Linked DNA regions of Homo sapiens: all the other regions are linked to region 1. The links are contacts of gene promoters, found by promoter capture Hi-C in human tissues and cell types (Jung and others, 2019). All regions are on one chromosome and are shown on one strand. The core of a region is centred on a gene start or on the middle of the fragment in contact, and the rest is flanking DNA. Distances in the headings are between cores, read along the strand shown. Region 1 holds the start of ARMCX2 (armadillo repeat containing X-linked 2). Region 2 holds the start of ARMCX6 (armadillo repeat containing X-linked 6). Region 3 has its middle 41 kb from the start of ARMCX2.

Region 1 (2,827 bases), core at 133-2,632:
AACCTTTTTGTGAAATCACAGGTTTCACAAATCGTCAGCTGCAGGGTCAGGTAAGAACAGCAATCCTTTCTATGCATCAATGGGTTTCCTCTGGGAACTTGGGGGAGGGACGGAAAGAGCCAAAGACATTTAACCAGGTCTGCATCTTGGTCACTTGTCTGGATATATTTTGGGTGTGAGCAACTGAGCCAGGTACCTGAATGCAGGAGATGAGCGGCTCTGGCATATGGGAGGGAGTAGAGAGACAGCATCTCCCTCCTCCTCCTGACAGGGCAGGGAGGATTTGACCACTCTGCACCCACCACACTCAGTTTCCTTGGCCTCACAGCTCTTCCTTTTGCCCAGAGTTGAATCATTAACTGGAACCTAATCCGAAGACAGGTGTTTAAAACTGTCATGGTTACAGCCATCAAATTACAGGAGGTTCACACACAGCAGTCAGCAATGGTTTGGGAATATTAAATAAATGTGTTTCTCTAACAGGACAAGACAGGATCATTTATTTATGCAACTTAAAAGCTGTCCCAGAAGGAGAAAAAAGTAGCGTATTATTTGTCCAAAATAAACAAGATTGAAGAACTGAACATCTCTCTGTGGATCAATTTACAGATCACATGGAAATATGCTTATCTTATTGAGAAATATTCCATTTTAGATGTTCAAATACCTTAGCATATTTTAAAAACTATTTCCTATGTGACCAAAAGAATTCATGTTCTATTCGGTAAAAATTAACCAAAATTAATGGTGCTTTCCAATGGACGCAGGAAACCTTTTTTCTTTACAAAACATGCCCACCCTTTTTTTGTTGCTACTTCCCACATTGAATTCTTGTTTTACTGAATTTTCTTACTATAAAAATAAAGCATGATGATAGTTTTGAAAACAAAACAGAAGTATTTGAGAAGTACAGACCCCACTCCCACTCCTTGTCTCCTTTCTGACACTCTGCCCCTTAACTATACTGGAACAGGGAGTCAACTGCAAGGAAAATCCTGGGGACTAGGGGCTGAGGAACTAGAGGTGGAGAGATGGAAGAGTGTCCAGTAGCCCAGGAAAGGATGAAACAATTCCCCAACAAAAAAGTAAAAATTTTCAGTAGCCCTCCGAGAAGATGCAGCCCCTCCCAGGTAACCAGAGAAAGGCAAATTGTGAAAGCAGGGAGAAGGGGCTACTTTAGGCCTCCAGGACTACAAAGACAAAAAAATGAGTGACAGGACCTGATGTGGTGGGGTGAGATGGGAATGGAAGTAAAGGAGGGGGCTCGTACTCTTGGTGGGAGTGGAAATTGGGGACCCAAGCTTACTGGCGATGCAGCCCTCACGTGACCAGGAGCTGACGTGGGCAAAGGTACTTAAAGCCCTGACCGTCGTTCTCCGTCCTCCTCTGGGTACCAACTCTATTGCGCAGCTCGCTGCCGTGCGTTTAACCCAGGCGAGGAGGAGGAGGAGAAAATTCCCCCAGATTCGGGCAGGTGGGTGTGAGGGTGGGCACAGTCTGGGACCCCTGAATAGGGGTAATCTAGGGATGCGGGAGTCGGAGGCCGCGGGTGCCTCGGTCTCCCCCACTCCTGGCCGGCTTTCCAGACCTGAGGTGCTCAAACGCGGCTCATTTTGGTGGGCGGTGGGGAAAGGGGGAGGGGGAAACGAAAAGACTTTTGATAGACTTTACGAAGAATCCGCTTACTTCCTTTCCAGCCAGTGTTTTTTGGTTTTGTTTATAATATTCAGGCCCGCACCCCACATTCCGTCCTGTTTTGAGAGGAGGAGGGAAGAGAAATAAACGTGGCAGCGCATAGAAGGCCAGCAGGGAGGTTGGGAAAGGGTAACCAGGAGGCGGGGGTGGGGCATGCAATTTGGTAACAATCTGGGCGGCACACTCCCACCCTGACTTTCCCCACCACCGCCCCGGCACCCTCCCATCCCCCAGCCGACCCTCTGTGATTTGGGAGTGCTGGGAAATGGGTGTACCAGCTGCTGTTGGAGAGGTGGCGGGTTTGGCGCTGTCTGGGCTTCACGGGAGGTGGGGGGGAGGGGGCGGACCCTGAGAGAATCTGGTATTAAACCGCCTTGTTAACTCGCAGACTGCTTTCCAGACACCTCCGGCCCACACAGCCGTTCACCCCCCGTCTTTTCAGTCCTGGAAAAGGAATTCGGGTATGCAGGCGGGAGAAATGGCGGTTGTTGGGGGGATTTGTGGGAAGTGGGAGGTAGAGCCCATAGCAGAGAAATCGTGGAAAATCTCGACCCTGAACCCGAAAAGGCAGACGTTGAGGCCCCTCTTCTGCAGGCTAACGCTAGGCCTAGGGGCTGGGGAGCGAAAGATGGGTGATCCTGGGAGGGGAACACTGAATTGTTTGGCAGGAGTCCCCCATACCGCGTCCCATCCAGCTTTTGCTGCACCCTCGCCCCGCTCCCCTCCCGCTTCGTTGCAGGAGAAGGGGTGTGGCGGTGTGTCCTGGAGAAATGGCGGACGGGGGCGGGGCAAAGCGGAAGGAGGGATTGAGTGCCTGGGGAGCCTGCGCAGGAGGAGGATTGAGGTGGGAGGGGTGGGGTGAGAAGAGTTGAAGGAATTGAGAGGTAGAATCATTTGACATTCTGATGTGCAAACACGAAAAGGCAGTTACTGAGACCCTTGTCCTGGATGCTGATCCATCCACCAGGCTTTCATTGTCTAACGTCGACAGTCTATATTTCTGCTCTTCAGTCTGTCCTTAGGATGAAGCTCTAACTGAACTGAAGTAAGGAGAAACAGCCTTGAATCTTTGGAGGGTCAGTGCTGGGGTTGGAATTGTCTGGGGCCCCCTGGTGTGGGTGTGGCAGAGACA
Region 2 (3,012 bases), core at 275-2,774, 42 kb after region 1:
TTTCAATGTTCTAAGAGGTTGCCTGGAGTGTCTATATTTAGAGTATGACTCCTCAGCAGGGACAGGTGGATGCATGAGGACTAACTTCTGCATACTTGGTCCCTGAGTTTTGGGATTATTCTGAGGGGCTTGTACTGGTGGCTCAATGAAGTTGTAATAGAAGGCAGGAAATGAAAAGTCCTCTTTTTTTCTGGCAACTGCTTGAGATCCTGTGCATTGCCCTTCCACTTGTGAGGGGAAAAAATGACACAGACATCAGGGGTGTTGCACTGATTCCCAGTCACCCACAGACCCTCACCACCATCTCCACTGGAAAATGCTGAACACTCACCACTGCTAGGGTAGCATAAAATACATGAATGGCAGACAACAGAGAGATCGCCAACAGTGTCATGATGGAAAGAAAATTACCTCTATCAAGTCTCATTTTCATCAATAGGATAACAGGAAATTCTCTAATTTCTGGAAGATTTATAGGTTGCACCACAAACTTCAGAATAGATTGTAAATAAAGCCCTGTGAATGAAAGGCAGGCTAATCTGTGGAGTCACTAATCTGTAAAGTTCATCTGAAGATGTAAGATTCATCTGAAGTTGGGGTCTGCATAAAATCTGTCCTTTGAAGCCAGAGTGAAAGTCACCCAGCAATCTTCTATGAAGATCTCAGTCATCTGACACCTAATACTATGAGTTCAGCCAGGAGAAAGAAAGGGACAATAGTTCACTTACTTAAAATGGTCAAAATTAGAACACTGACCTTCTCGGTATAGATTCATTTATCCATCAATTTATAAATCATGTTGAAAGCACAACTGGTTTTGTTTCTAAGGGTGTGTTTTTACATTTTAATATGTTGTTTGAAAGCTGCTATTTCCTGTGCAGTCCGAAGAAAATATGTTCAACTTGATACAAACTAACTTCATCAAATCAATGAGGCCTCCTATTAACTGGGAAATCTTGCTTATGTTATATATATATATATCTGTAAAAAAAAAAAAAGATTTGAATTATTTCTTCTCCAAGTGGGAAAAGCTTTATTGTTTTTTTCCGATTACAAAATAGTGTAGTTCAAGTCAATAAAAAAGAAAGGACAAAATATAACTTAAATGTTATCAAAATACTAATTAAAATCTCACCACTGCCTGGACTTCCGTTTCTGCCCCCTCACCCAATGTTGGTGTAGAGACTGAACACGGAAAAGTGTAGAAATTTAAGAAAGGGGCTGCAGAAGTTTCAGAGCCAAGGAAAGGATGAGACAATTCCCCAAGAAGTGTAAATGAAGGGTAGACTCAGGAAAAGATGCTGCCCCTTCCTAAAGATGCTGCCCCTTCCTGGAATTAGAGAAACATAAATTCAAACACCAGAAAGACAGGGCCACTTCTGGTTTCTGGTATTGTTACAGAGGAAAAAAGTGACAGGGCCCACTGTGGGGGTTGAGGGGGAGATACAAGGCAGGCTGGCGCCTGCCGCACTGCTTGTGGGAGTGGAAATTGGGGGCCAGAGCGCACTGGTGACGTGGCCGTCACGTGACCAAGAGCCGCCTAGAGCACAAGTCCTGCTAGTCGCCTCCGTCTGGGTACCAGCCCCCTATTACTCTGCAGGCGTGTGAAGAAAGAAGGAAACTAGCTCGGACCGTGCAGGTCGGTGCGAGGGTGGGCGCTGCTTGAGAGGAGGTATGGGTGGAAGAGGGCCAAGAACGCCACAGATCCGAGTTCAGGCCGATCACAGCTGGGTCCCTTTCTCGCCTACTTTCTAAATACTGCTACCCACCCCCACCCCACCCCGTGCTCATTTTAGTAGAGAGAAGTGGCGGGTTTCGGGTGGGGGTGAGGGGAGTGAATGGCGTTTCCAGAGACTCCGAGAAAAGAAAGGTTCTAGTGTCCCGGGTGCTGGTCCGTCCACCAAGCACTCCGTCCCCTCGGTCCCTTGTCTGTTTGCAGGTTTGTAGGTCTGTTGGCCTGTAGGTTTCGGCACAAGTTTCAGCGAGAGAAGGAGAAAACTGCCTTGGTTGGAACCTTGCAGGTCAGTGTGAAGGTGGGATTAGCCCAGGACCATGGGTGGGGGTGGCGGAGGAGGGGGGCTGGGATATGAGAGGGCCAGGTCCGAGTCGCCCTCTCCTGGCCCCTTCTTTCTCCACACCCACTCCCATTTCAGTGCAGGGAAAGGGGTGTGGCGGCCTTTGCTGGGGAAATGGCGGACGACAAGTGGGGCGGAGGAGGCCTGCGTCCGGAAAGTCAGTAGAGTATGAGAAATATTTTAAACTCAAGTGTCTAAAATTCACAAAAACAGAAATTGGGACCTGTGTCCTCAGTTCATCCACTACACTTTCATTTCTCCATTGCCGCCTACCTGTCTTTGCATTTGTCCTTCTGCCAGACTCTATCCTCTATCACCGTGGAGGGACCACTGACAACAGAAGACAAGGGAAAACGAAGGAATTTATCTGACTTTGGTAGAGGTTAATGAGAGAAACTGCCCTTAATCTTTGGGGGTGGAGGTCTGGTGTAGGAGACTACCTGAGAGGTACTCACACTGTCACCCTCCTAGCTATCATAGCAGAGACCCATCTCCTGCCCTTCCCTGTGGACCCAGGAAGAGAAATGGGGGCTCCTGAGGTCGATAGAGGAAGACAGAAAAGAAAAGAACAAAGAAATTGTATCCTGTTAATCTGCCTTTATCACCAACTCGAAATCCACCCTGTCTGTGAGGCACAAAGCCAAACATAGTCCCGAGCCCTAATACTCTGTTTCACCCACAGATTCATCACAAGAGAGCTACAAGAGCCTGGAAGAAGCTGAAGACTGCTACCCTCCATCCTTACTCACCCTGGACCTGAGAGACCTCTTCAATCAGGTGGAGCAAGGCCCTCTCCTGTCCTGCCCCAAGGCTGGCACAGACTTGAGCATGGGCCGGGCTCGGGAAGTGGGTTGGATGGCGGCAGGACTGATGATTGGGGCTGGTGCCTGCTACTGCGTTTACAAACTGACCATAGGAAGAGATGACAGTGAGAAGC
Region 3 (2,936 bases), core at 369-2,868, 41 kb before region 1:
CAACCTCTGCCTCCACCGTTCAAGTGATTCTCCTCTCTCAGCCTCCCGAGTATCTGGGATTACAGGTACCCACCACCATGCCTGGCTAATTTTTTGTATTTTTTAGTAGGTACGAGGTTTCACCATCTTGGCCAGGCTGTTCTCAAACTCCTGACCTCAAGCAATCTGCCCGCCTTGGCCTCCCAAAGTGTTGGGATTACAAGCATGAGCCACCATGCCCAGCGTCATTTACTTGGATTTTAAAAAATAATAATAAATGATTGGTTTAGCCACTGTGCCCGGCCATGATGTTTGTCTTTCTGTGCCTGGTTTATTTTGCTTAACATAATGATTTCTAGTTCCACTCATGTTGTTGCAAATGACAGGATCTCATTAATTTTAATGGCTGAATAGTACTCCATTGTGTATATGTACCACACTTTCTTTATCCATTCATTTGTTGATGGATACTTAGGTTGCTTCCAAAATGTTAGCTATTGTAAACAGTGCTGCAACAAACACAGGAGTGCAGATATCTCTTCAATATACTAACTTCCTTTCTTTTGGATATGTACCCAGCAATGGGATTACTGGATCATATGGGAGCTCTATTTTTAGATTTTTGAGGAACCTCCAAACTGTTCTCCCTATTGGTTATACTAATTTACATCCCCACCAACAGTGTATGAGGATTCCCTTTCCTCCACATCCTTGTCAGCATTTGTTATTGTCTGTCTTTTGTATATAAGCCTTTTAGCCATTTAACTGAGGTGTGATGTTATCTCATTGTAGTTTTGATTTGCATTTCTCTGATGATCACTGACATTGAGCACCTTTTCATATGCCTGTTTGCCATTCATATGTTTCTTTTGAGAAGTGTCTATTTAAGTCTTTTACCCATTTTTTGATCAGATTATTAGATTTTTTTCCTATAGAGTTGTTTGAGCTCCTTATGTATTCTGGTTATTAATCCTTTGTCAGATGGGTAGTTTGCAAATATTTTCTCTCATTCTGTGGCTTGTCTCATTACTTTGTTGGCTGGTTCCTCTGGTGTATAGAAGCTTTTTAATTTGATATGATCCCATTTGTTCATTTTTGCTTTGGTTGCCAGTGCTTGTGTGATATTACTCAAGACGTTTTTGCCCATACTAATGTCCTGGAGAGTTTCCCTGTTTTCTTGTAGTAGTTTCATATTTTGAGGTCTTAGATTTAAGTCTTCAATCCATTTTGATTTGATTTTGTATATAGCAAGAGACAGAGGTCCAGTTTCATTCTTCTGCATATGGATATCCAGTTTTCCCAGTACTATTTATTGAAGAGACTGCCTTTTCCCCCAGTGTATGTTCTTGGCACTTTTTGTCAAAAATGAGTTCAATGTAGGTGTGTGGATTTGTTCTGGGTTCTCTATTCTGTTCCATTGGTCTATGTGTATCTTTCAATGCCAGTACCATGTTGTTTTGGTTACCGTAGCTCTACAGTATAGTTTGAAGGCAGGTAATGTAATTCCTCCAGTTTTGTTCTTTTTGCTTAGGAAAGCTTTGACTATTTGGGACCTTCTGTGGCTCTATATAAATTTTAGGATTTTTTTTCTATTTCTGTGAAGAGTACCATTGATATTTTGATACAAATTGCATTGAATTTGGAGATTGGTTTGGGTAGTATGGACATTTTAACAATATTGATTCTTCCAATCCATGAACATGGAATATCTTTCATTTTTTTGTGTTCTCTTCAATTTCTTTCATCAGTGTTTTATAGTTTTCATTGTAGAGATCTTTCACTTCTTTAGTCATGTTAATTCCTAGGTATTTATCTGTATGTGTGGCTATTATAAATGGAATTAATTTTATTTCTTTTGCAGATTATTTGCTATTGGCATATAGAAATACTACTGATTTTCATATGTTGATTTTGTATCCTGCAACTTCACTGAATTTATCAGTTCTAATAGTTTTTGGTGGCACCTTTAGGTTTTCCTAAATATAATATCATATCATCTGCAAACAAGGATAATTTCATTTCATTTCCAATTTGAATGCCCTTGATTTCTTTCTCTTCTCTGATTGCCCTAGCAAGGACTTTCTGCACTATGTTGAGTAACAGTGGAGAAAGTGGGCATCCTTGCCTTGTTCCAGATCTCAGAGAAAAGGCTTTCAATTTTTTCCCATTCAGTATGATACTAGCTATGGGTCTGTTATATATGGCTTTTATTATGTTGAGGTATGTTTCTTCTATCCCCAGTTTTTTTTTTTATTCAGGAAGGGATGTTGAAATTTATCAAATGCTTTTTCATCATCAATAGAAATGAACATATGGTTTTTACCCTTCATCCTGTGGATATGATGTATCACACTGATTGATTTGCATATATTTAACCATGCTTGCATCCCAGGGATAAATCCCACTTGGTTATAATGAATGATATTTCTAATGTATTGCTAAATTTAGTTTGCTAGTATTTTGTTGAGGATTTTTTTGCATCAGTATTCATCAGAGATATTGGCCTAAAGTTTTCTTTTTTTTTCTTTTTTTGATGTGTCTTTTTCTGCTTTTGGTATCACCATAATACTGGCCTCATAGAATGAGTTTGGAGGTATTCCCTCCTTTTCTACTTTTTGAAACAGTTTGAATAGGATTGGTATTAGTTCTTCTTTAAATGTTTGGTAGAAATTCACTGTGAAGCCACTGGGTCCTGGGCTTTTCTTTACTACGAGACTTTTTATTGTGACTTCAATCTCATTACTTGTTAAAATTGGTCTGTTCAAGTTTTGAATTTCTTTCTCTTTCAATCTTGGTAGATTGTGTATGTCTAGGAATGTGTCCATTTCTTCTAGATTTTCCAATTTATTGGCATATTGTTGCTCATAGTAGCCACTAATGATCCTTTGAATTTCTGCAGTATCCAGTTGTAATGTCTCCTTTTTCATCTCTGACTTTATTTATTTGGATTTTATCTA

Evidence for each region. The method cuts DNA at HindIII sites, captures the fragments that hold promoters and counts their contacts. A contact is called where the count stands out against the background at its distance.
Region 2: a contact is called between the fragment with the promoter of ARMCX6 here and the fragment with the promoter of ARMCX2 in region 1, in 1 of the 25 tissues and cell types used here (hippocampus).
Region 3: a contact is called between a fragment that was not itself captured here and the fragment with the promoter of ARMCX2 in region 1, in 2 of the 25 tissues and cell types used here (dorsolateral prefrontal cortex and hippocampus).

The regions. Positions count from the first base shown.
Region 1 is chrX:101,658,405-101,661,231 of GRCh38, reverse strand. ARMCX2 (armadillo repeat containing X-linked 2) reads left to right here and starts at 1,382. Exons shown (of 6, transcript NM_177949.4): 1 at 1,382-1,474; 2 at 1,731-1,813; 3 at 2,084-2,156; 4 at 2,707-2,771. The HindIII fragment of the contact is 6,606 bases long and covers 480-2,827 here.
Region 2 is chrX:101,616,512-101,619,523 of GRCh38, reverse strand. ARMCX6 (armadillo repeat containing X-linked 6) reads left to right here and starts at 1,524. Exons shown (of 3, transcript NM_019007.4): 1 at 1,524-1,639; 2 at 1,940-2,021; 3 at 2,758-3,012. The coding sequence starts at 2,904. The HindIII fragment of the contact is 6,377 bases long and covers 328-3,012 here.
Region 3 is chrX:101,699,730-101,702,665 of GRCh38, reverse strand. No RefSeq gene overlaps it. Among named protein-coding and RNA genes, the nearest start is that of ARMCX2, 41 kb to the right of the region's middle. The HindIII fragment of the contact is 4,608 bases long and covers 1-2,936 here.